Regions from separate parts of the Homo sapiens genome. Here regions 1, 2, 4, 5, 6 and 7 are each linked to region 3. The links are contacts of gene promoters, found by promoter capture Hi-C in blood cells and fetal thymus (Javierre and others, 2016). All regions are on one chromosome and are shown on one strand. The core of a region is centred on a gene start or on the middle of the fragment in contact, and the rest is flanking DNA. Distances in the headings are between cores, read along the strand shown. Region 1 overlaps ARHGAP11A-SCG5 (ARHGAP11A-SCG5 readthrough). Region 2 overlaps RYR3 (ryanodine receptor 3). Region 3 holds the start of FMN1 (formin 1). Region 4 overlaps RYR3 (ryanodine receptor 3). Region 5 overlaps AVEN (apoptosis and caspase activation inhibitor). Region 6 overlaps RYR3 (ryanodine receptor 3). Region 7 overlaps ARHGAP11A-SCG5 (ARHGAP11A-SCG5 readthrough).

The links. Contacts are between HindIII fragments. The CHiCAGO score rates a contact against its expected background, and 5 or more counts as called.
Region 1: a contact is called between a fragment that was not itself captured here and the fragment with the promoter of FMN1 in region 3, in 1 of 17 cell types (monocytes). The highest score is 5.2, in monocytes.
Region 2: a contact is called between a fragment that was not itself captured here and the fragment with the promoter of FMN1 in region 3, in 4 of 17 cell types (endothelial precursors, erythroblasts, M2 macrophages and 1 more). The highest score is 8.3, in endothelial precursors.
Region 4: a contact is called between a fragment that was not itself captured here and the fragment with the promoter of FMN1 in region 3, in 3 of 17 cell types (endothelial precursors, erythroblasts and M2 macrophages). The highest score is 7.6, in endothelial precursors.
Region 5: a fragment that was not itself captured here is called in contact with the fragment with the promoter of FMN1 in region 3 in 1 of 17 cell types (naive CD4 T cells); the score reaches 5.2 in naive CD4 T cells.
Region 6: a fragment that was not itself captured here is called in contact with the fragment with the promoter of FMN1 in region 3 in 1 of 17 cell types (endothelial precursors); the score reaches 5.1 in endothelial precursors.
Region 7: a fragment that was not itself captured here is called in contact with the fragment with the promoter of FMN1 in region 3 in 3 of 17 cell types (monocytes, fetal thymus and M0 macrophages); the score reaches 9.7 in monocytes.

The regions. Positions count from the first base shown.
Region 1 is chr15:32,646,631-32,650,154 of GRCh38, forward strand. All of the region lies in intron 10 of ARHGAP11A-SCG5 (ARHGAP11A-SCG5 readthrough), which reads left to right. The region is part of intron 2 of SCG5 (secretogranin V); the gene reads left to right. Among named protein-coding and RNA genes, the nearest start is that of SCG5, 6.7 kb to the left of the region's middle. The HindIII fragment of the contact is 6,991 bases long and covers 1-3,524 here.
Region 2 is chr15:33,729,180-33,732,960 of GRCh38, forward strand. It overlaps RYR3 (ryanodine receptor 3), which reads left to right. Exons shown (of 104, transcript NM_001036.6): 48 at 2,295-2,515. Among named protein-coding and RNA genes, the nearest start is that of CHRM5, 240 kb to the right of the region's middle. The HindIII fragment of the contact is 1,560 bases long and covers 1,050-2,609 here.
Region 3 is chr15:33,193,377-33,196,756 of GRCh38, forward strand. It overlaps FMN1 (formin 1), which reads right to left and starts at 1,338. Exons shown (of 21, transcript NM_001277313.2): 1 at 1,202-1,338; 2 at 533-684. It overlaps LOC105370759 (a long non-coding RNA gene), which reads left to right and starts at 1,535. Exons shown (of 3, transcript XR_932090.3): 1 at 1,535-2,199. RefSeq lists silencers at 1,317-1,656, 1,431-1,640. The HindIII fragment of the contact is 5,074 bases long and covers 1-3,380 here.
Region 4 is chr15:33,711,908-33,715,676 of GRCh38, forward strand. All of the region lies in intron 43 of RYR3 (ryanodine receptor 3), which reads left to right. Among named protein-coding and RNA genes, the nearest start is that of CHRM5, 250 kb to the right of the region's middle. The HindIII fragment of the contact is 1,568 bases long and covers 570-2,137 here.
Region 5 is chr15:34,034,767-34,038,105 of GRCh38, forward strand. All of the region lies in intron 1 of AVEN (apoptosis and caspase activation inhibitor), which reads right to left. The region is part of intron 1 of CHRM5 (cholinergic receptor muscarinic 5); the gene reads left to right. Among named protein-coding and RNA genes, the nearest start is that of AVEN, 2.8 kb to the right of the region's middle. The HindIII fragment of the contact is 1,225 bases long and covers 1,429-2,653 here.
Region 6 is chr15:33,748,480-33,752,005 of GRCh38, forward strand. It overlaps RYR3 (ryanodine receptor 3), which reads left to right. Exons shown (of 104, transcript NM_001036.6): 55 at 1-51; 56 at 1,500-1,575; 57 at 1,684-1,807. Among named protein-coding and RNA genes, the nearest start is that of CHRM5, 220 kb to the right of the region's middle. The HindIII fragment of the contact is 1,837 bases long and covers 333-2,169 here.
Region 7 is chr15:32,665,408-32,669,143 of GRCh38, forward strand. The region is part of intron 10 of ARHGAP11A-SCG5 (ARHGAP11A-SCG5 readthrough); the gene reads left to right. All of the region lies in intron 2 of SCG5 (secretogranin V), which reads left to right. It overlaps SCG5-AS1 (SCG5 antisense RNA 1), which reads right to left. Exons shown (of 4, transcript NR_135505.1): 2 at 3,593-3,711; 3 at 1,032-1,081; 4 at 295-510. LOC124903458 (a long non-coding RNA gene) reads left to right here. Exons shown (of 2, transcript XR_007064573.1): 1 at 1-158; 2 at 1,396-1,713. Among named protein-coding and RNA genes, the nearest start is that of SCG5-AS1, 5.8 kb to the right of the region's middle. The HindIII fragment of the contact is 2,880 bases long and covers 887-3,736 here.

The DNA of each region.
Region 1 (3,524 bases), core at 1-2,500, 550 kb before region 3:
TACTATAGCTAGGATGAAAACTAACAAAGAAAATAGTCCAAAGATACTTGGGGCAAAAACAACAAAATAAAAAGCCTGGGTTTTTCCCAGTCTGGGACCTTGGCATTGAATTTGTTGGGTGGTCTGATCATTTATTCATGTGAGTTAGTTATTGTTTCACCTCATCCATTTATTTGCATTATCTTTGCTCACACTCCCTGATGCTAATTCCCTCTGACAGACACATGGAGTATCTTCCATACCCTTCCAACATTGATTTTAGGATTTTATTGTGAAGAACCAAGTTGGGAAAGTTTATTTTTAATTGTTACAGAAAGAATATACATAATATATTATCATATTTTATAGTAATACTGTATTCTGGTGTGAATTTCAAATACACTTAACATGGTGCTTATGAGCACAAACCATTGTCAGAGACACCCGAATTTGAATGCCAGCTTCATCATTTATTACTAATATGACCTTGGGCAAGTTACTTAACTCCTATAACCTTCTGTTTAGCTTAGGGGTAGGATTTAAATTCACTTACTTGTAAGCAGGTAATGTTCCAGTCCACAGAAGCAAAAATAAAGTTTTAGCATGGATAACTGTGCTACGATGAAATAATTTCTAAACAAATCATCATCATCATCACTTTAGATAATTACTGGATGTTAAGTTCCTTGCAGGCAGAGTTGTTCACTGCCCAACACATGGTACATAGAAGACAAATATCTATCTTGTCTACTTAAATAAATTAATTGTATGATCAATGGATCTTAACAAATGTGTATATTTGCTCTCAAATATAGAATTATAAATTGGCCTTTTAGTATAGGAATATAGTATCAGTATAAATTAATGTTAGGTCAGTGAGGTATCATATATCCCATTAAAAAAAACATATCTTCTTTGATTCCATATCCCTTCTAGTTACTGTTCCAATTTTCTGCTGCCTTTCACAGCAACCTTTCACAGCTGCCTTTCACAGCCTTTCCTCACATGCCAATTGTACTTCTTCACCTCTCATTCTCTCCTGGTCCATTGTAGCCCACTGTTCTCACCGCTCATTCATTAAACCTACTAGTATTTATTGAGTGCCAGGCACTGTTTTAGGTACTGAGGAAATAAACGTGAACAGCAAAGTAGCAGGGCGAGGAAATGTAGTCCTTAAATAAACAAATAAGTATTGGGCTTTCCTTTTTTCCTTTTTTTCTTTACCCATTTGTTAGTTTCGTTTACAGGTTTCTCTGGCGGCCTTTAAAAGTTAAGTTCTCCAGGGCTCAGTGCTGGGTCCACTTCTCTTATTTCCCTCAATTCTCTATCTACTTGATCTCATTCATTCTCTTGACTCTCAATCCATTTCTTGGCTGGTGACTCCGGTGTTTGTATTTCAGCCCACATTTCTTTCTTGCATATCCATAGGCTTACACTAATTGCTAAATTGCCAGGTTTCGATCCTGATTTCTCAAACCACCACCTTCCCCAGCCTGTTTATATCAGTCTTTTCTGTCTAAATGAGTAGTGCCCCTGCTTAGCCATATATGCAAACTAAATACCTACAGTAACCCTTGATTTTCTCCATCACACTTCATGCCTCAATTTTAAGTAATTTATTTCATTTTTATCTCTAAAATCCATGTGCAATTTCCTGTCTGCTTCTCTCTAGCTCTACTCCAAACACCCTGGTCCAAGATACCATCATGTCTGGCATGGAGTTTTGAAATCGCCTCCTAACTCATCTTCCTGCTTCTATTCTTGATCCCTTTTCGATTGTTCTTCACAGGAAGAACAGGAGTTAAACTTTTTTCAGGAGTTAAACTTGAAAAGTTTAAACCATATTAGTGTCATCTCCGTAGTTACAATTCCATTGGTGGCTTCCCATCGTACCCTGAATAAAAATAACCCTTCTTGCCATGACCTACGAGGATCCACAGCTCCAGTCAATCGTACTCCCTACTTTGTTCCACGCATTCTGGCCCTGAGTCACACCGGCCTCTTCCCACCTCAAGGCTATCAACACATTGGATGGGATCAACAATGGGAGGCTATCAACCTCCCATTCCTTGTGTAGCGAGTTTCAAAGTCACCCACTCAGAGAGGGCTGCCTGACTGCCCTGTCTGAGTAGCACCCCCCTACATTCTCTGTTGCAGTCTCCTTTTTTTTTTTTAAAAAAAAAACAGAGTCTCACTCTGTCCCCCAGGCTGGAGTGCAATGGTGCGATCTCGGCTCACTGCAAGCTCCGCCTCCCGGGTTCTCGCCATTCTCCTGCCTCAGCCTCCCCAGTAGCTGGGACTACAGGCGCCCGCCACCACGCCCGGCTAATTTTTTGTGTTTTTAGTAGAGACGGGGTTTCACCGTGTTAGCCTCCTGACCTCGTGATCCTCCCGCCTTGGCCTCCCAAAGTGCTGGGATTACAGGCGTGAGCCGCCATGTCCAGCCTTTTTTTTTAAAGCTCCATAGCATTTTTTGTCATTTATAATCATTGTTTGTTTTCTTGCTTATTGTTTATCTCTCCACTGGAATGTAAGCTCCATGAGGCTATATCTGCTTATTAACTGCATTATATTCCAGGCACATAGTAAGCATTCAGTAAATATTTGAGGAATTAATGTATAATATCAGGGGGAAATAAATATACCTAATGGCAATAAGTATGTAAATACTGTTTTACATCTGGATCTGTCAAGACTTTCTGCCTTTTAGTTCAAGGAAAATATTCCATTTCTATTCTGTTTTTAAAAATCTCTGCCTAGAGGTTCTTGCCATGAGCTTAGTGATAATGTGGTGAGCAAAAATGTCTGTTATCTAGAATTGACTATGACTGTGATCACCATGGTGCAAGGTTTGTGCCCTTTGTACAGCGCCTACCAAGGAGCTAGAAGGACTTTTTGCAGTCCTGGGACTAAACCAGCAGAGGGCCAACTAGACTAGAAGTTTATTTTGGAAGATTCCTGAACCCTGGTAGCCAGCCTCCTGGTCGTTAATAGCTTTAAGTGGTCGCTGGGGTAGAAGCATTTGCCAAAACATCCAGAGAGGATTGGGGGTTATGTTTAACTTCTCCGTGGGCGCCTTAAAAACAGCTTGGTAAGGAGCATCTTTCAAATGTGTAAATTCTTAGTCCAAAGCAAATAAAAACACAAAGACAAACAGGGACCTACTTGGCATTACATGAAAAAAAAGAGTGTGTATGTTTATGGCAGAGAACTCGGGTTAACCCGTAGCCGTACTATTTTCTAGCTATGTGTAATCCTGGCAACTTTCTAAGCCTAGTTCTCTCAAATAAAATCGGCCCAAATAAAATGGGCTTGTCTGGTTCGAGTTGGTGTTTGAAAAATAAAAATAAAATAAAATGGGGTTTCCAGCCCACTCTTACATGCAATCAGTGGGTGCCATTAGTAACTGAATTGCAGGCCTTCCTCCTCTCACTTTGTGGATTATCAACAACATGTTTTCAGTCTTTAATGGCTTACCCCAATCTTATTTATTTATTTATTTTTTGAGACGGAGTCTTGCTCTTTCGCCCAGGCTGGAGTGCAGT
Region 2 (3,781 bases), core at 580-3,079, 540 kb after region 3:
TCTTAATTTATTGGGCCAGAGACTTAGATATAGGTCAATTTGACCCCAAATCCAACTCCCTCAATTGCAGAGTTTTTTTAACCTTGACAGTAAATGTTAAGGGGCTATCCTGTGCATTGTAGAACGTGTAGCAACATCCCTGGCCTCTACCCACTAGATATCAGTAGCACCCCAGTTCACCGCGAATCCCTGCCAAAATCAATTTCAGATATCACCAGATGTCCCCTCGGGGACAAAATCACCCTCTGGTGAGACCGTGTCTCTATTGCCTTTGAAAAAGGCTGGCTGGCAACATTATAGGCTGACATTACTCTTCACACTCTCGCTTCTTAGTTTCATGTACTGACCACCAGGATGGATAGGTCTGAAGCCAGGGGCCTGACGAAGGTCAATACAAGAGGACAAAGGCAAATATAAGTTTGGAAATCAAGGGTGAGATAGATAAGGTAGTTCACCATCAACAAACATCAAGAGAGGAGGCCCCTAGAGTTACAAAGCTCAGATACGAGATGCCACAAGTCAGAACTAAGCAGAAAAAGGTACACCAGGAGTCATAGGTCCAAGGAGAAAAGACAAACTAGATCTGCGTAAGTCTAAAAAACATCTTTCCAGTTTAGTGTTGTTTTTAGTTATAACATTTCTCAAAGGCTCCACCTGGTGTCCAACAGAGACAGAAATCTGAGCTCTGTGATGGGTTGTCAGCGGCAAATACCTTAACTTGGATGGATTCCACCTGCATGGGTTATCCAGAAATGGAAAGAAATATGAGCCCCAACCTGAGTGGGAGCTGCATTCCCATGTGTGGTATGGTGATGATAAATGGTATATATGACAGTATTAGGGTATACGATCCCTAATACTGAATAACCCAGTCTAACCCAATGTTTTGATATAATAAAACAATGAATAATTTTTTATTCATAATGAATAATTATGAATAATTATTTGTGAATAATTAAAACAATGCTTCTGCCACTGCTGTTGTTTTGAACTTTTCTATAAATTATTTGATTTTAAAAATAATTTTCTTAACTCATGGGATCTCCCCAAGCTTCCTGATCAAATAATTTAATGTTTTTATAAATCAAATAAACAGCAAATGCTATTCTAGTATCTGGTGTTCAATCACATGTTTGTCCAAACACCATCTACAACAAAAAGGTGTTATATTCAGTTCATTAACACATAGACATTCATGCATTCTCTTTTGAAAACTTATAATCTACTGAAATCAAAGCTCTGTCCTTTCTCGTTTTAAGTCTGTATATTAAAGTGATAAATGTGAAAGATTAGCTGTTTCTCCCAGCATGATTACTGAAGTTTCTAGGAGACAAACTTGATAATTTAGATAATTTATAGGAACAATGAGACATGTATATAGTTCAAAGAAAATGGTTTTTCAAATCATAAGTTATATAAAGTGTGTTACAGATAGAATGACTGCAGGAATCACAGGAAATGGCAATATTTCATCTCTGTGGATCTCAAGGTTTCTTTCGAAAGTTCTATAGTTTTCAAAGATGGTGGTAAAGCATGCTTTGGCTATACTTAGTGTCACTAAATGGGTTTTCCTTGTATTCCATTCATCCGTCTAAATGTACATCAAAGAGCATTGTAAGCAAGAACTATGTTAGAGTTGTACAGAAGGTCCCAAGTTTCTGTTCCTTTTCCACGTTGCCCATGCAGAGTCAGGTTCCCTTTAGTGGGGTCTACTCTAATGTCAGTATTGATTGTGAATTGCTCGAAGTGCTCACCAATTAACTGAAAGGAGTCAGAGTTCCACTTTCGCTTTCACAAAACTGGTGAATTTGAGAAACTGCTTGGCCTATAACCATTCACTAATCTTACAGTTGTAAAATTACAGTGTGTGAGTCCCTGGTAGGTGAGAAAAGAGAGCGAAAACCAGAATAGTAATGTAGTATCCTGGCAACTAGACTTTGCAAGCATCAAAATGTTGGGTTAGACTGGCCATCAGCTGATTTTAATGAGTTCAAAATTCTTTTGAAGGGAACAGATATTTATAGGATCATTTGGGAAGACTTAGAGCCAGCTAGCCTTTGTTATGATTTTTTTGTGTGTTTTTTTTTTGTTCTTTCTTTTAACTTGATTTTTTTTCATTGAAAATGCAAAAAGAAAAATAGAACTGCCGATAAGGTAGAAAGTTGTTCACTGCCTTGCTATGCAACGTGGACATATATAAGCTCCCACAGCTTGCTACATGGGAACTCTGTGCAGAGCCAGCTTTGCTCTGTTCCTCAGGGCAATTAACCTGTGTCCCAATCTTCTTTCTCTAGGTTTCCCTAAGCACCACAGAGGCTGCGCTTGCACTAAATAGGTATATATGTTCTGCTGTGCTCCCGCTCCTCACAAGATGTGCCCCTCTCTTTGCCGGAACAGAACACTGCACCTCTCTGATTGATTCCACACTGCAGACAATATACAGGCTATCCAAGGGACGTTCCCTCACCAAAGCACAAAGGGACACTATAGAAGAATGTTTGCTTGCCATTTGCAAGTAAGTACATATCCTATGTTGTTACTTCTGTGTATGCATCCAGGTCAACTGCATTTTCCTATGTAATCTAAAAACTGGTGGTCTAGTCTAAGGAAGCTTCCAGGCCATTGTCATACACCAGCCCTCCCCCAGACATCTCATAGGATGTGCTCGGCTCCCCTATTTGCCACAGGCTCTTCCTTGAGGCTCATCTTTCCCTTTGGGGGAAGGGAGAGGGCACAGCTCAGGCTTTACCCATTACGGTTGATGGACCAGAAGACTATTTCAGGCCTAAACTGTTCAGATTAAGGGCTGTCTTCATTCTCTTCATTCTCAAGATAGAGCCAGAAGCAGATGTGTCTGTCCTCTACATGAGCATATCTTACATAGAAGCCAGACTCTGAGTGTGAATAAAAGCAACCTACCGGCTGGGCACGGTGGCTCACGCCTGTCATCCCAGCACTTTGGGAGGCCGAGGTGGGCAGATCACGAGGTCAGGAGATCGAGACCATCCTGGCTAACACGGTGAAACCCCATCTCTACTAAAAATACAAAAAAAAAAAAAATAGCCGGGTATGGTGGCAGACGCCTGTAGTCCCAGCTACTCGGGAGGCTGAGGCAGGAGAATGGCGTGAACCTGGGACGTGGAGCTTGCAGTGAGCCGAGATCATGCCACTGCACTCCAGCCTGGGCGACAGAGCAAGACTCCATCTCAAAAAAAAAAAAAAAGCGACCTACCTCTAGGCCTCCCAAGACCAGCAACAAATGAAAGAAAAAACCTCCAGTCACAGTGGGGAATTAAAGGCAATAATTTTTATGACTGCAGATGGGCATCAGAGCCAGCTGAGGACAAAAGGTAAAGTCACCCCAAGAGCCTTGGGTCTTCAGGAATCTAAGTCAAGTCTGGTAGAATCCAAGGAAGACGACCCTTTCAACAGGTCTTAGCAGCACAGGCCAAGACTATGATCTGCTATTTTTCAGCCAGTGTTTTTCCTTCTCACCTGCATATCAGAAATGCCTGATGAGTTACGAAATAAATATCCCAGTGCCCAGGCCACATCCGAGCCCAAAAAGTCAAAACTGTTAGGGATGGGACCCAAGATTCTGGCTTTTGAAGCTTCCCAAGTGATTCCAATATGTAGTCCAGATTAGGAATCACTGCTGTAGGGCACTCCAGAGAGAGGATCAACAGCCTTCCCCCTTTAGGGGCCAGCTGAGTATGGTCTTGATTTCTTGTTGAATGAGTTCTTTTCTAATCACAGATGAAATTACTATGCATTGGGGAGC
Region 3 (3,380 bases), core at 88-2,587:
GGTGTAGAGAACAGAATATAATTCTCTCTCCTAGGAATTTAGATGCGCCCCTCCGCCCCCCTGCCAATACACACGCAAGGGGGCATAGCAGATGATGGCACATGTCCCATATGCAAACATGAATAGTAAACATGCTTTAGTACAGCTGGAGCTACTGTAGCAGAAAGTCAGGTTGTCTGCTACTCCACCTGGTCTTCTTAAAGGATTGGGTCTGGACATTCACCTCTCAGTGACTGCCACTCCCCATATATATCACAGGTTCAGGCTCTGCATTCAGCCCATTCGGAGTGTGTGAGTGCTAACATGGAACTCTCCAGGAGACAGCAAGCAGAAATGTGGATGATTAAAATAAAGGGTTTTCTTTGGCAATCTCAATTGCAAATGAGGATAAGGAAAATCCTCCCAGCTCACACTCTGCTCCCAGCTACTTGTTCTTGAGTTAAATGAGGGCTTGGCTCTGGCCTCAGGGGGCAAGAGCACTGTTCGTTATTTGGTGGTGGGGGAGGGGGTTGGGGGATCCGTCAGCACTTACATGCCTTTAGAGAATCTGCCTTTACAGAACTTGAAGAGCTCTGATGGAGGAACAGAGATGCTGTGGTGGTAGTGGCCTTGGAGGTGGTGGTAGTGGCAATGGTGATGATGATGATGATGAAAGAAGAAGAAAACGGTGATGGTAAATGTCATCTATAAACACAAGCAAAAAGCAGCAACAGATACCTTTCTAGTCATTGCCAACCATAGTCATGAAGCTGCTTCTGTTCCCAATGCAATCCCATTGTGGTGCTCCCCCTCTGCGCTAAACACATCCAGCTTCAAAAAAAAAAAAAAAAAAAAAAAAAAGCTCTGCATCTCTCCGTCCCCCGCCCTCCCGCCCTCCCGCCCTCCACCTTTCCTGTGCCAAGCTGGGAATGAGACTGCACTGGCGGGTCAAGGGGGCTGGGACCTGAGAGTCAACGACAGGAGTTCTGTAGTGAGGAGCGTTGGGATGACCCGGAGGGCCCACCAACGTACTTGGGAGCAGCTTGGTGGGGGAGCTGGAGGAACCGACACAGAAGGGGAGGAAGATAAGCTGGCGGGGTAAATAGACTTGATGCCTCATTCCAAGAACCCTGAAAGCCACGGGGGAAGGCGGAGCAGGCAGCCTTTGGTCGGGAAGAAGAGACGGGCAGATGGCCAGCAGAACAGACAAGACTCTCTTTACCTGACCAATACTCGGGAGGCTGGTCCCGAGTCCCAGCTACTCGGGAGGCTGAGGCAGGAGGATTGCTTACGGCAACAGCCGTGGCGGCTGCAGCCTCGAAGGATGCTGCGCTCCAGTCCAGAGCCAAAGCCCAAAGGGGCAGCTGCGCCGACCTCCACCGAGGCTCCGCCCCACAGGCCACAGGCCCCGCCTTCCTAGCACGCGCCGGCCTGACGAGCTGTTTGGGGGAGGTGAGCAGTAAACTGATCGGCAGGGCTGAAGACCAGTGGAAACGTGCAGCGGCGCCCGAGGTGGCAGGGGAGGCGGGGCGGGAGGCGGCGGTGCCCAATCAGCAGCCGAGCCGTTGGGCCAGGCTGGGAAGCAGTGCTGTCTTTTGGCACCGTCTGATCCGGGCTGAGGGATTGAAGGCGGTGGTCGCTAAGCTAGGTCTAAGACGGACAGCCAGGGCGACAACCAGTCTCTCGCTACGTGTCCCCAGCTTCCCTGTTTCCGAGCGCCTCTCAAGGCGCACGCTCTGGACTTGTTCAGATGGGGGAAGGGAACTGGTCTGGAACTCCCCACTATTCCCGAGGTTCCCACGCCTCCAGATCCGGAGAGGCCGTTTCGCTCCAGTGGCCTGGCCCCCCTGCCCCCTCAGCCTAGCCGTTCTTGATCGTAAGTGCTAAAAGGAACAAAGAAGGAGAATTCAAGAATCCACACATAAGCCCAAACCCTGACAGGAGCCTTTTCCTCTCCCATCTCCTGCCTACGCTTCCTCCTAGTAGCTTTTTAACTGCTGGCGGTTAAGTTACTTTGACTGGTTTGAATTAAACGCAAAATAGGTTTAGGCTGAGAAATGGGCCAGACCCTTGGCGATCTGAGAAAGAAAGACTGAGTCCGGATGTCAAGAGGCCTGGGCCTCACGAGGGAGTTTGTCTGCTTATTTGAACACCTCAGAGTTGAAGATCTTGTTACTGCTATTTCTGTGCTGGTGAATCAGTACAGACCTTGATGCCAAGGTACTGTTTTGTCCCCAAGTGTCTAATCATTACTGAAATGAACTACCTTCAAACCTTTCCTAAGAGGATTTGAGGCCTTAATGTCGTTGAGATTTGGAATGTGATTTGAGTGACACTGAGATCTTTTCCAAGTAGGTAGGCAAGAAAAGGCATTGTCTTTAATCTGCTTTTGGATAAATGCGAACTGTATCACCCATTTGGTACTTGAAGATAGAATTTTGTCCTGAATAGATTCTGTTTTCAAATAAGTAAATGGGAAAAAAATTTGGAAGGTATTTTTAAGGTGATTTTTTTCACTATTTTTTTTCTAGAAATAATAGTTTATTGGAACTCTGATTTATTCTTAATCACAATATTAGCCAAACACTGATAGGCCCTTTATTTATTTGTTTTTTTAACACACGGTCTCACTCTGTCACCCAGGCTGGGGTGCAGTGGTGCGATCTTGGCTCACTGCAGCCTCAACCCCGTGGGCTAAAGCCATCCTCCCAACTCAGCCTCCAAAGTACCTGGGACTACAGGCGGGCACCACCATGTCCAGCTAATTTTTTAATTTTTTATTTGTAGGGACAGGGTTTCACCATATTGCCCAAGCTGGTCTCAAACTCCTAAGCTCAAGCGATCTTCCCTTCTCAGCCTCCCAAAATGCCGAGATTACAGTTGTGAAGTGCTGTGCCCGGCTCCATAGGCACTTCATATACATTATCTCCTTCAATCCTCATATCTTCCCCTTGTAAATTCCACTTATAGATAAGAAAACTGAGGTTCCCAAAGTTCAAGTAATTGTCCTTGGGTCATGTTCGTAGTTAGGAGTAGAGTCAATACGAGGTCCGTATATCTCCTGTCTAAAAATCATCATCATCAGTTAGAAGAATAAGAAGCCCTCAGTACGACTCTTAATTCCTTGATGCTTTTTTCTTTTTACCTGAAAATTGTCATATAGGGATCCAGTTTTCACACTACTGACTTCTTGAAACCGCAGCCTCAGAAGCACCTTTAAGAGTGAAGTGTCACCTCTGACATGTGTTAGGAGCAATTGCAAGTCAACTTTGCTCATAGAAGGGAGCTGTGATTTCCTATTGTTGGGAAGGAAGTAAAATTTTGCAGGGCTTAAGTCAAACTAGGTTTTAATTGATGTAGAAATCTTTTAAAGTCCACCCACAAAATAATATCATGGTCGT
Region 4 (3,769 bases), core at 104-2,603, 520 kb after region 3:
CAATCTTTGGTACAAATGTTCAGTATTAGTCCATTCTTGCATTACTCTAAATAAATACCTGAAACTGGGTGATTTGTTAATAAAAGAAGTTTAATTGGCTCGTGGTTCTGCAGGCTTTACAGGAAGCATGGTGCTAGCATCTGCTTGGCTTCTGGTGAAGCCTCTGGGAGCTTTCAATTGTGGCAGAAGGTGAAGGGGGAATAGGCACATCATAGGGTGAAAGCAGGCATAAGGCAAGGGGGAGGTGCCACACACTTTTAAATGGCCAGATCTCTTAAGAACTCACTGTTGTGAAGACAGCCTCAAGCCATGAGGGATCTGTCCCCATGATTCAAACACCTCCCACCAGGCCCCACCTCCAGCATTGGGGATTACAATTCAACATGAGATTTGGGCAGGGACAAATATACAAACTGTATCAAGGACTGAATGGTGATGATGATGGCTGAGCCTAGGTATGTTGAGAGAAAAGGAACAGAGGTCACATTGAAGCTTAAAGATTTTTGAGGGTAGAGAGAAAGAAATAAGGATGTCAGAAGAAGCAAAATGGTTTGAGATGGAAGGTAATAAGCTTGGCTTGGGTCACATTATATTGATTTTTCTGTGTACAGTACCCATATAGAGATACCCCTAATTGAATTTGTAGGATAGAAATCAATCAACAGATTAGAACTAAGTAGATTTGCAGTCCATTGGTAGCTCAAATGCTTCACAGTAGGTTGCCACAGGTGAAGGCATGAAAAAGAAAAATGTGGAGAGTATGAAAAAGAAAAATGAGAATATTTCTGAATACTTAGGAGGAGGAATAGTGGCTCAATCACAACAGAATGTTACAGAAGAGTTTGGAGTAGAGAATGGAGTAACTTGGGTTCAAATTTGGCTCTATCATTTACTAGTTGTGTGAATTGAAGCAAGTTAGTCAAAATACCTAACCTCAGTGCTTTTTTATGTGTAAAACAGAGATGATAATAATGTATGCCTCACAGAGTTGTGAGGCTTAAATGAAATAATCCATGGAAAACTTAGATCAGCCCAGTGCCACAAACCTTATAAACTTGTAGTTATGATAGTTGTTGTTCATGATCTTTACGAGAGTGGTAGGGCATTTGAAATGGGAAAACTGTAATAAACAGATTTCTTTGGAATCTCAAAGCCCTTTATAAGTCCTTATGTCTAAAAGGTGATTCAAAAGGACTTTCTGAATACCTTTGTGAACTCTGCTCAGCAATGTAAGATAAAAGTGATATAAGGAATCGTGGCAGATGATGGAAGTATTCATGGTGGGTGATGGTAGATGATGGTGGGTGGTGGTATATGATTATGGTGGGTGATGGGGTGTTCATGGTGGGTAATGGTGAGTGGTAGTGGGAATTGTGATAGTGGGTGATGAATGGTGATGATGCTAGTGATAGTGGAATATGATAGTTGGTCAGTGGTTATAGTGAGTTGTAGGGTGACTGAGGTGGGTGGTGGTTAGTGAAGGTAGACATGGTGATGGTGGTGGCTGATGATGATGGTGATGATGGGATATGATGGTTGGGTGGTGCATGGTCATATAGGGGGGTTATAAGGGTGAGTGTGGTGAATGATGGTGAGTGATGATGGGGGTGGTGAGGGTTGTGGTGAGGATAACAGCTAACACTTATTGAGCATTTACCATGTGCCAGGCACTGTTCAAAACACTTTTACATATATTAACTTTAATTATACGACAATCCAATGAGGGAAGCATCTTAGTCTGTTCAGGCTGCCATAACAAAATACCATAGACAAGGTAGCTTATAAACAACGTAAATTTATCTCTTACACTTCTGAAAGCTGGGAAGTCCAGGATCAAGGTGCTGGCAGATTCAGTGTCTGGTGAGGTTTCCTGGTTCATAGATGGTGCCTTCTCACTTTGTTCTCACATGGTGGAAGAGGCAAGGCAGCTCTCTGGGGCCTCTTTTGTAGTGGCACAAATCCCATTCATGAGGGCTCTGCCCTTATGACTTAATTACCTACCAAAGGCCCTACTGCCTAATATCGTCACCTGGACAGTTAGGATTTCAACATGAATTTTGGAGGGTGGGGGGGACACGAATATTCAGACCATAGCAAGTGGATACAATTATCTTCATATTGTAGATGAAGACCCTGAAGCTTAGATTAAATACCTTGCCCAGAGTCTCATAGGTAGTAGAAAGTAAAGCCAGAAATTGAATCAAGCAGTTTGACTCCAGAGGCCACAGTTTATGAACCATTGTGCACTGTTGTCTTCCTGTCTCCCTAATCAACAAGGAGAAACAACATTTTCTCCTTTGAGCTTGTCAAAAATGGTGGTATTATTTAATCACTGTTTGGTGCTAATTTTAAAAATTTTAAGCCATATCAAAAGCTTTTAATATATCAAAATAATGGAATTAGAAAACTCTTTCTAACATTAATTTACTATTATTTCTTAATGTTTGTAGTAAATCTTCTTAAATATTTGTCTTTAAGAAAATGTTTTAAGGCATATAATTTGCTTCACTTTATTTTTATTAGCTGTTGAGAAGCCTTGGGTTGTGTTTAACTCTGGAAGTAATGAAGTCGTTAAGCTTCTATTTTCCCCGCAGTTGCAGGCACTGTAGCCAGGCTAAGCACAGATGTGTTTGGGTGTCTGTGATTAATCCCTTCCTATTGTAGACTCTGAGAAGGAAAAGGTTTCCTATCAATCCACAAGAAAAAGGGAAAAGTTATTCTGTGTTTTCTTAGAGTCCTTGGAGAGTTATAGCGATATCTTCCCCAGACTACAAACTTAGTTTAAGGAACATAATATCTCCTAGCTTTGCTGAATCTGCTTTCCTAGGTAGATTTATTATCAGTGGCCATAACTTGGACATCCATCATGTGACATGTGAAGAGTCTATGAGGGGCTGTGAAACGTGATGCTCTAGAAGTCCTGCCCAGAAGTCACTTCCTACAACTCAAAGCAGGAAACAGAGAAAACCCAAGTAGAGTGATCAGAAACATGTATGGAATAATTACTAAAAACTTTGTAATCAACCACACCTACCTACATAGTGACACATGAGACATTGGCATGCCAAAATGATGGTGTTTATTGGAATCTGGTAGAATTAGTCAAGGGATGCATGAGGAAGAAGGCAAGTGTTGAATAACATCTTGAAATAAATGGATATAGTTTAACAAAGTCCTAAAGGGAGAGCATATGGATAGACTGTTGTGCTGGGAGACATACATCTTTTAGGGTTGAGAGTACAAAGTGTCATCTTAGCTTTGAAGGGCATACAAGGTGTAGACACTTAAGAATCATCTGGTTTATTTCTGCCCTTGTATTCATGTTTTTAGAGTCAGAAAGGGCATGTTAACCATTCTTCAGTGTGATTGGTACTAGACTAGGCATGGTTAGGACTAAATGTGTGACACATAGTTTTGTTCTCAAATTTATAAAACAGTTGAAAAGATTCAGCAAGCTCTTGAAAAATTAACCAATGGCAAAAGATTTAAATAACAGTTTAAGACAAATAGGAACAACATCGCAATGTTGTACTCAGGAGATACAATCATGCTAGAGTGATAAGAAGGTAGAATATAAGGTACATTTGAGATATGGCTAGTTGCAGCTGGATTCTTAACATCTATGTTACACCTTTGTACTAACTGTAAGGTATCTTAGTCCATTTATACTGCAGCAACAAAATACCTGAGACTGGATAATTTATAAAGACAGAAATTTATTTCTCACAGCTCTGAAGACTGGGAAGTTCAAGAACAAGGCACCAGTAAG
Region 5 (3,339 bases), core at 791-3,290, 840 kb after region 3:
TGGTTTGCAGCAGGAGGAGAGGTCAATTTCATGGATTACCAAGAACTAATCTTAAAGCAATCTTCTGTTGGGACACTTAAGCACATTCAGTTTCTAACCAAATTTGCTTCAGGCTTTCTGGAAAAAAAGGAAAATAAAGTCTAGAGGCTGTCATTTCAGTTTGAGCTTTTAACAGGCTCTCAGTCTCTAGCTGGCTGACAAGCGGCTGGTGGCTACTCTGAGCAACAATGAAGGAGCAAGTCCTTAGACACCTGCCTGTAACTGATCTGACACCATTTCTTCCCTCCAGGTTCACACTAAACTTGAATAGAAAATTAGAGATTTCCTTTTTACCCAGTGAAATGAAAATGTCAACGCCATCGGGTATTAATTACTACTCAGGCTTTGTTTACAAAGCAAAAGTTTGATCAGAATTAAATGCCTCCAGATTCTACTTTTTAGTACAACTATAAACAGCTGTCTCATCTTTTATTGAATATAAATCATTTTAAAAGGAATATGAAAAGCTGCAATATAAACATGGAGCAAGAAAGCAAAGGTCTGGTAACACCCACAATAACTGAAGATGGTACCAATGTTACCTTAAAACCTTATAACCATACTAACATATCAGTTAAAAAAATAATCAGGCATGTGAAAGAATCACTCAACAGTCCTCCACACACCCCTTTTTCAAATCTCAAAGTCATTCCAGGAGCAGTTTAGAGCAGCAGTCGAAAGAACAGGCTCTGGAGTGAAAATGCTGGGGTGGAATCCAGGCTCAGCAATTTTCTGGTTGAGTGATATTAAAAAGTTATTTCACCTCTCCTAACTGTGAGTTATTTAACGGTGCCTCAGCTGTCTCATCTTATATTAAGTACTCGACAAATGTGAATTACTGTTATTACTAGAGGAAGGAAAAAAGAAAAAAAATTCCAAAGACTACCAGCTGGCCTTGTCTTCCTCTCTGCTAACAGCCCATCACAAAGATAAATACTAAACAATCCTAGTATTGGGGGCAGTGATAGGGGGATTATTTATTCATTTAGTTAGTAAGTTAGTTATTTGAGACAGAGTCTCACTCTATTGCCCAGGCTGGAGTGCAGTGGCAGGATCACAGCTCACTGCAGCCTCCACCTCCGGGGCTCAAAACAATCCGGCTGCTTCAGCCTCCCTTGTAGCAGGGACTACAGATGCACCCCGCCATGCTCGGCAGTTTTGTATTTTTTTTATAGAGAGGGGGTCTCGTTATGTTGCCCAGTCTGGTCTCGAACTCCCAGACTCAAGTGACCCACCCACCTCAGCCTCCCAAAGTGCTGGGATTACAAGCGCGAGCCACCACACCCAGCCAGTTTTGTGTTTTTTTTTTAAAGTTAATGATTGTATCTAGTACAATAATGCTTCTAGTGAGTATTCCGTGAAGATAATTATGCTCACCCATAATCAGTAAGCTTAGAGCTCAGACCATTTACAGAAGGAATGATTTAAGAGCAAGAGACTAAGAGATGTACTCAACTTAGTACTCAACTAAGTTACCCTGGAGTATTACATAGCTATGTAGAAGTTGGTTAGATTGATTTTGTTTTCCATTTGTATGCAGTGGTCCAAAATAGAAAGCAAAGGTGTACACAAAATTGGTTTCTGAAGGTGGACAACTGGTCTTTACATGGCTAGGAGTCTATTATGATTTTTTTTTCCTTTGATCATTTCGGTTACTCTCTCCTTGGGGCACAAATGCACCATGGGATATGAGAACAAGAAGGCTTCAGGAAAGTCAATCAATCTTGTCTCATGTAATGGTTAAGCACCAAAAATGGTGTCCTAGCAAGACTAAATACAAACAGTACTTCAGAATCTGAGAAATGGAAGGAACTTAGAGATGACCAATCCAAACCAAAATTAAGGAACAATCTGCCCAACATCCCTCCCTCCAGCTTTGGCTGAAAACATGATGATGAAGGGATAAGACCAACTCGACAAAAGAAAAAGCCTAAAATTTTAACAGAATGTGTTACAATACTATCTTAAATTTTTTAAAGTCTTGTATTATTCTTTCTTTTAATGATATACCATCATGACCAGGCGCAGTGGGTCACACCTGTAATCCATATCCCAGCACCTTGGGAGGCCGAGGCGGGTGGATCACCTGAGGTCAGGAGTTCGAGACCAGCCTGACCAACATGGTGAAACCCCATCTCTATTAAAAATACAAAATTAGCCGGGCAAGGTGGCTCATGCCTGTAATCCCAGCTACTTGGGAGGCTGAGGCAGGAGAATCACTTGAACCCGGGAGGCGGAGGTTGCAGCAAGCCAAGATCATGCCATTGCACTCCAGCCTGGGCAACAAGAGTAAAACTCCGTCTCAAAAAAAAAAAAAAAATATATACCATCATTTCACCCAATTTAATTCAACAGAGATTAACAAAACAGAAGCACCTTCACTCACTCAATTCAACTTAAAGACACTTATTAGTAAAGTCCTGTGCGCCAGACACCATAGTTAACACCAAATGTACCATTACTACAATTACTCTTAAAGCACGATCCCTGCAGCTAAGGAATATCTACTTTGTTCTCAATAAAGTGGTAACTGGTTCACGAAAAAGTAAGAGATAAAATACTGTTGACTCAAGGGCAGCTTGATATAAATCCCAGCTCTGCCACTAGCTGTGAAAGCTTAGGCAAGTCAGTTAACCTGTAAAAATAAAGATTACTCTCTATATATGGATATATAAATAATATATAACATTGTAGTTAATATATAATTACATACTATTATATTACATAATTCTACATTACATATATATTATATATATATAATAGAGTTATAAGAACAAAATGTGATATATAGTGGGCACTAGGTTGGTCTTAGTTTCTGTCATTTACCTTAGTTTCTGTCAGTTTACACGAGGTAAACTGACCCTAAAAATGTTTTTATATCTCATTCAAGTTTTGCCTATTACCTATCTTAATCCTAACAAGATTTAAGTTTGTTACATTTAAATTTAAGTTTTATACTTTTTTTTCCAGCTCTGTATTGCTGTATACAACTACTCTCTTTAGGGATATCTTATCTGCTATGCCCTCAAGATATTGTAAATACTTCAGTAAGAGCAAATTTTGCCTCATGCAAAAAAGAATTTTTTAAATCAGTGTGCATAAGAATGCAGAATATAAAGATGGTCTTGTCCTACAGATGTTAAGGTAACAGAACAACTCATAAAAAGACAGTCCTCTAACTCCTTTAGCTGAGATATGGTTAGCTTTGCCCCCATATATATCATCCCCTGCTCCAATCTCCAAAAACTTCCTTCTATGAATGTGTCAATAAGACTGATGATATTGCTATTAAAACTCAGA
Region 6 (3,526 bases), core at 1-2,500, 560 kb after region 3:
AGTCCTGCTCCCCTCGACCTCTCAAACGTTGTGCTCTCCAGAGAGCTCCAGGTCAGTGCCCCAGGTCCAGCATGACTTGCTTTCAAGTGCAGGACGCATTACCTTCCAAAGAGTTAAAGGGGGAAAAAAGGGAAAGAATGCCTAGAACATATCACCACTAAAATTCAAAACTGAAGACGGTCACCTTGTGCAGAGGCCACAGGGAAAGTCTCTGCAGAGTGAACCAATCCTCCAAGGGGAGGCTTTGCGCTTCTTCTAAGGACTTCATGATGGATGCTGACTCAGTAGGAAGCACCACCAGCGCACTAGAGTCATTCCTCAGCATCCATGAAAGCTTTACCCTAGGACTTCCCACAGATACCAAAACCCACGAACGCTCAAGTCCCTGATATAAAATGGCATAGTTTTACCTATAACCTACACACATCCCCCCATATACTTTAAATTATCTCTAGATTATTTATAATTCCTAACACAATGTGAATTCTATATAAATAGTTGTTATGCTGTATTGCTTAGAGAATAATGACAAGAAAAAAATCTGTACATGTTCAGTACAGACACATTTTTTTCCAAATATTTTCAAGCTACAATTGGTTGAATCCACAGATGCAGAACGCATGGTTAAGGAAGGCTGACTATACTGTATCAAAAACCAAAATAAATAAGACAGCTAGGACAAAATCTGTGAAATTTAGCACCTCAATGGAGGTGCTTGCTGGTCATTGTAAGGCCCCCAAAACATAAGGACAGCCCACACGTCCCACAGTGGGTTTGCTGGAGCTCCCTGTGATGGTGCAGGCAGGCAATCATTGCAGGATATAGGAATGTAAGACCAAGGGGTTGAAACTGAAAGCCCTAAGCTGCTTCCTCCCGTTGCTCCCCTCCTGTACACACTGGTGGCTGTGGCCTGCCCTAGCCTGGAGCACTCACCCTCTGGAAGTCCATCAGACCAGCCCCTTGGACCTTCGAGAAAGTTTCTTTCCAAAGTACATCCTTCATTCTAAGTCACTGTTTTACAAGCCTTACAAAGATGGATTCTACTAGAGAAATCTTATTTACAGCACTTTCCTTTAAGACGTGATTATTTTTAGTTTGTTAAGCTATAGGCTTTCGGGGGTTCTAGACTTTTCTTGGCCCGCACTCCCAACTCCCCGTCTGAGGTCAGGAGTACAATACCAAGCTGCTGTGAAAAATGATGTGCTGCCAGCATGCGGGTTCAAGTGGAAATGGATGTTTCTCATAAATGCATCAAACTGCCAGAATAATAAGTTACAAGGGAAGGACAGAGTTAGAAATTGTTTTCTATGTGTATGGGAGGATAGGAAACTAATGAGGTACATAAGCACACACTAATTAATGATGGGAAGCCCTTGGCCGTCTGCTGTTAGTGTTCAGTGGTGTGCTTTTCCCGAGGCTGCCTGAAATGACCTAGCAGCTATGAAGCCAGCTTGCCTGCTTTCTTTCTTTTTGACTTGGCTCTTCTTGGTGGGACACAGGGAATGGTGGAGGTCGTGGCTGAGAACTATCACAATATCTGGGCCAAGAAGAAGAAGCTGGAGCTGGAGAGCAAAGGTGAGTGAGGTTCACAGCATCCCCTAAAGAAGCTGAACCGGGGCAGCTATGGTCTCCCAGAAGTGCAAAGGAAGAGCCAAATGTCATCTCTCACCTTACTGACCCCAGGTGGTGGCAGCCACCCTCTTCTGGTACCATATGACACCTTGACTGCCAAGGAAAAGTTCAAGGACCGGGAGAAGGCACAGGACCTGTTTAAGTTCCTCCAAGTGAATGGCATCATAGTTTCCAGGTAAGTCACCTTCCATGTGATGCTAGTGGGACAGGGCTGTGCCTCCCTAGATATTTAATTACGTGCCTACAAAACCCATCCAAGTAAGGAGAACAATTGAGTCTTTTAAAATGAGAACATTTTTATTTTAGAACATGAAGCCCTCTTTTTTTGATATAAGCAGAAATGTTAGGTATTAATTTTTAAAGATCAGTGACAACAAAGAATTATTACAAATTATACCTACATACCTTAAACATTTCATTGTAACTTAAAATATATAAACATGCATTCATTCACAAACCTTGTGCTATGGGCTAAGGCCCTTTCTTTGTATATTCTCTTTATTGGAGTTATAAATGACATCCATAATACAACCTCAAAGCTTTGGAATTTGGGCTTCTTTAAAGAGTGGTGATAATTTGCAGCACATGATAACAGGGTAAATGCAGTACCCTAGATATTTTTTTATTATTATTTAAGTTCTGGAGTACATGTGCAGAACGTGCAGGTTTGTTACATAGGTATACACGTGCCATGGTGGTTTGCTGCACCCATTAACCTGTCATCTACATTTGGTATTTCTCCTAATGCTATCCCTCCCCTACCCCCACAACCCCCACAGGCCCTGGGGTGTGATGTTCCCCGCCCTGTGTCCATGTGTTCTCATTGTTCAACTCCCACTTACGAGTGAGAACATGTTTGCTTTTGGTTTTCTGTTTGGTTTTCAGTTCTTGTGTTAATTTGCTGAGAATGATGGTTTCCAGCATTATCTATGTCCCTGCAAAGGACATGAACTCATCCTTTTTTATGGCTGCATAGTATTCCATGGTGTATATGTGCCACATTTTCTTAATCCAGTCTATCATTAATGGGCATTTGGGTTGGTTCCAAGTCTTTGCTATTGTGAACAGTGCTGCAATAAACATACGTGTGCATGTGTCTTTATAGTAGAATAATTTATAATCCTTTGGGTATATACCCAGTAATGGGATTGCTGGGTTAAATGGTATTTCTAGTTCTAGATCCTTGAGAAATTGCCACACTGTCTTCCACAATGGTTGAACTAATTTACGCTCCCACCAACAGTGTAAAAGTATTCCTATATCTCCACATCCTCTCCAGCATCTGTTGTTTCCTGACTTTTTAATGATCGCCATTCTAACTGGCATGAGATGGTATCTCATTGTGGTTTCGATTTGCATTTCTCTAATGACCAGTGATGATGAGCTTTTTTTCGTATGCCAGTTGGCTGCATAAATGTCTTCTTTTGAAAAGTGTCTGTTCAAAGCCTTCACCCAGTTTTTGATGAGGTTTTTTTTTTTTTCTTGTAAATTTAAGTTCCTTGTAGATTCTGGATATTAGCCCTTTGTCAGACAGATAGATTGCAGAAATTTTCTCCAATTCTGTAGGTTGCCTGTTCACTCTGATGGTAGTTTCTTTTGCTATGCAGAAGCTCTTTAGTTTAATTAGACCCCATTTGTCAATTTTGGCTTTTGTTGCCATTGATTTTGGTGTTTTAGTCATGAAGTCTTTGCCCATTCCTATGTCCTGAATGATATTGCCTAGGTTTTCTTCTAGGGCTTTTATGGTTTTGGTCTTATGTTTAAGTCTTTAATCCATCTTGAGTTAGTTTTTGTATAAGGTGTAGAGAAGGGATCCAGTTTCAGCTTTCTGCGTAGGGCTAGCCAGTTTTCCCAGCACCATTTATTAAATAGGGAATCCTTTCCCCATTGCTTG
Region 7 (3,736 bases), core at 1,077-3,576, 530 kb before region 3:
TCTGAAAGATGCAACATGGAGATAGGCCAGGAGGGAAACTAGTTTTAGGGTGTTCTCATTACATTCATTTTATGTCATTTTTTATTATTAGGTTTACATTATTGAATTCCTGTGGAGAAGAGGAGTCAGAGCTGTGAATAAGTCATAAGTCCCTATAGGTAAAATCAAGTACTATTTGTCTCTGATCAAAATTGCCCTTTCCATTGATAGGAGAAATGACTGGGCCTCCTTGTCATCCAGAGTTCATTTTGTTTTTCGTGGCAGTTTCACTGTCTTTGGGAATTGAGCTTTTTGAAATGTTAAAGCACGAGAAGCATGAACACCTTGGCAGGGTTTGCAGTATCTCCTTCTAGTGCAGGATGGAGGGCTCCAGAGCTGGCAATTTGAGGAATGGCTGGTGGCTTCTGATGTCACCTGCCACTCATGTGTCCCTCCCTGTTTTGAATCATGGATCTCAAACATCCTCAAAAGCTCTTCCCTGGTAATTTCAAAACTCTGAACAAATCAATCCTAAGAAAAAATAAACAAACATGCAGAAGAGCAGAAGGATATTTAGGATATGGTTCTAATTAAAATTTTTAAGTTTTCCTTTTTCAAAATCCTGTATGAGCTATTAAATAGGGAAAAACAAACTTCTGAGTAGGAAAGAAATAAAGGCCATTACCCTTAGAGATTTTGAATCTTACAATAAACAAATAGGTCTTCTTTTCCCCGAATGTTTCTTCTTATCAACACAAGGGAGTTGAGTGATGGCTACAGCTCTAAAATACTGAACATGGCTGCCTACTGAATTCAGCATACATACGTAGGGATATGTTACATAAGATGCACATACATACTTTATTTCTATTAGCCTGTGAAACAGTGAACATGCCTGCTCTTATAAAGCTTCTAGTAAAGGAACTACAAAAGAAACACATCTACTGGGCATTCTCACACTGGCTGAGGTAGGTTGGAACCATCTGGATTCTTGCCTGTGGCATAGTTAACCTCGTGACTATCCAGTTTTCCAATTATCCAGGCCCATTTACCTCTGCTCCCACTCAGCGAGCCCTTTGGCTATTTCTCTGTTCATTGGCACCTAAAGTCAAGGAGAAAGAAACGAACATTTATTAAGTGCTATGTTTGTACCAGTTAATCTTCTCAATGAAGTATTATTATCACCCCTGTTTTACAGAGAAGGAAACTAATATTCAAAGAGGTAAGATAACTTGTTCAGGACCACATATGTTTTTAAGTATAGAGCTCATGCATTATAAAGTGACCACCCTAGCTAACATTTATTAAGCACAATATTTGCCAGAATTCTTGCAAAAAGCCTTACAAGGACTATTTTATTTTATCCTCATACCAACGGCTTAAGGATGGTATTACTTAAGTATTCTTGTTTTACAGATGAGGTCATACAGCTAAGGTGATGAGGCCAATATTCAAACTCAAGCATCTGGATTGCAGGCTGCACTTTTGATCGCCATGTCTAGCCTCCTCTATACACCTGCTCTGACCGATTTGGTATTCACCACGCCCAAGAGGCTACTGAACACCTGAAATATGGCTGGCTGGAGTTGTGATGTACTCTAAGTATAAACTACACACCCTATTTGGAAGACAGTATGCAAAAAAGAATATAAAAAGTCTCTTTGGCAATTCTTTATATCAATTACATGTTGAAATGATAATTTGGATATATTGGGATTAAAAATTATTTAATTTCACTATTTCTTTTTACTTTTTGAAGTGAGAAGACTAGACAATTTAAAATTACAAATGTAGTTCATATTCTATTTCTATAGAACAGCACTGCTATATACTATTTTAAAATAATATATAAAGGGGACTAGAACTGACTCAGGCCAACATTATTTTTCATCAATAGTTCTAGTTAAAAATTTGGTTGGAAGTGGGTGGATGGGAAGGTTGAAGCCCATTTTTAAAGATAAGTTTGGTGTTTTTATGAATTTGAGTTATGTGTGCTTTCTTCACCCGTTTTACCATGTGTGGGTAAGAGACTTGCCATTTTTAAGAATCAGAAGAATTCTGTGAGGTGTATTTCCAGTGTCTGTGTGTAGTGCTGCAGCTGTCTGAGCGTATTGCCGGAGGCACCTCCTTTGGACTTTAAGGCACGAATTGCTCATCACTGTCCACACAGCTTTGTGGCCGCCTTTGAGTCTATCTCTTTTAACATAACATTGAGTTCTGGCTCCAGGTCTGGCACAAAGTTGATAATAACTAGTGAATACTGTTTTGTTTGGTTTGTTGTAGTTTTATTCTTTTTTTTTTTTTGAGACAGAGTCTCACTGTGTCGCCCAGGCTGGAGTGCAGTGGCACAGTCTCGGCTCACTGCAGCCTCCGCCTCCTGGGTGCAAGTGATTCTCCTGCCTCAGCCTTTCGAGTAACTGGGACTACAGGCACACACCAGCATGCCTGGATAACTTTTTTGTATTTTTATTACAGATGGGGTTTCACCATGTTGGCCAGGCTGGTCTCAAACTCCTGACCTCAAGTGATCCACCCGCTTCGGCCTCCCAAACTTCTGGGATTATAGGCATGAGCCACCGGACCCACTTTATTCTTAATACCTATTGCCAGGCAGAGGTTACATGGATATAAAAGAGAGAAATTGGGAATATTTGTATGAGATGGGAAACCACAGGCCAGGAAAGCATTACCAAAGGGTTGTAGAGGATTTAGTCTGGGCCCCTCCCCAACGTACACACCACGTGCCTTCTCCTCTCGAGGCTAGAATTAACCCTCACCCCACCACCAGCTGCCAAAAAATAGTAGTAGCTGCTGGGAACTCAGAAACAGAAAAGAATTTTCTATGAGATTACTGTCTAAAACAAATGTTTATTCTAGCCATTTATAAAGAACACTTATGGATTTACAGCAGCTTAGGATAGTGAAAAAGAAGTAGAGGAATGGTAATTAATTCAGGTACGAATTTGTAAGGCCAAGTGAGAATCACGTTCCTTGTCGTGGCCCAAAAGGCCTTGTCAGACTCAGATGGAGTCTCCTCGTTTTAGTCTACAGACATATGGGTGGAAGTGACATGATGGAATAATTACATTCCCAAGCCGTGTACCCAAAATCTGTGCTAGGACCACTCCCCTGGCCAGTGCGGAACCAGGTCAGCTGGTGGAAGGGGCTCTGAATGGGCACAGCGCTGCCAGGCCCTGCCACTCCCACCTCATCCCATCCAGAATGGGTCCAACACAGTTCCTGCTAACCCTTATCCACACCTCCTCAACCATAGTCCCCAGTGACCTGCTTCCTCTGTGAAGCCCAGGCTGACTGGAAGGTGACCCTCAACAGAAACCATCAGAGAGCTTTGGGTCTGGGGCGGAGGGTCACCTCCACTCTCACGGTGGTGTCTTGGTGTTAATGTCATCTGTTGGCTCAGCCATTCATTGCTTCTCTCTTCCCTAAGCTCCTGCAGATCTCCTTTACTCGTTTCTTAAGTGTAGGAAGCTATCTCCTTGGATGCTGGGTCACTAATTATAAACTTCCTATGCATTTACCTGGCTCTGGTTTGGCCCCTAATGTCTTTATTTCTGCCTGCAGGATTGTCATTGCCATTGCCCCTTTTCCTTACCTGGGAACCCGACATACTCTGCTTATCCCTTGAGCTGGCACACCAGGGGGCCTGGAATTCCTGTTGGTGAAGTCACTACTTTAAGAGAATTATCCCAGAAATCCTCTAAGTTGCAAATCCTACAGGAGCAGAGTACTACATGTT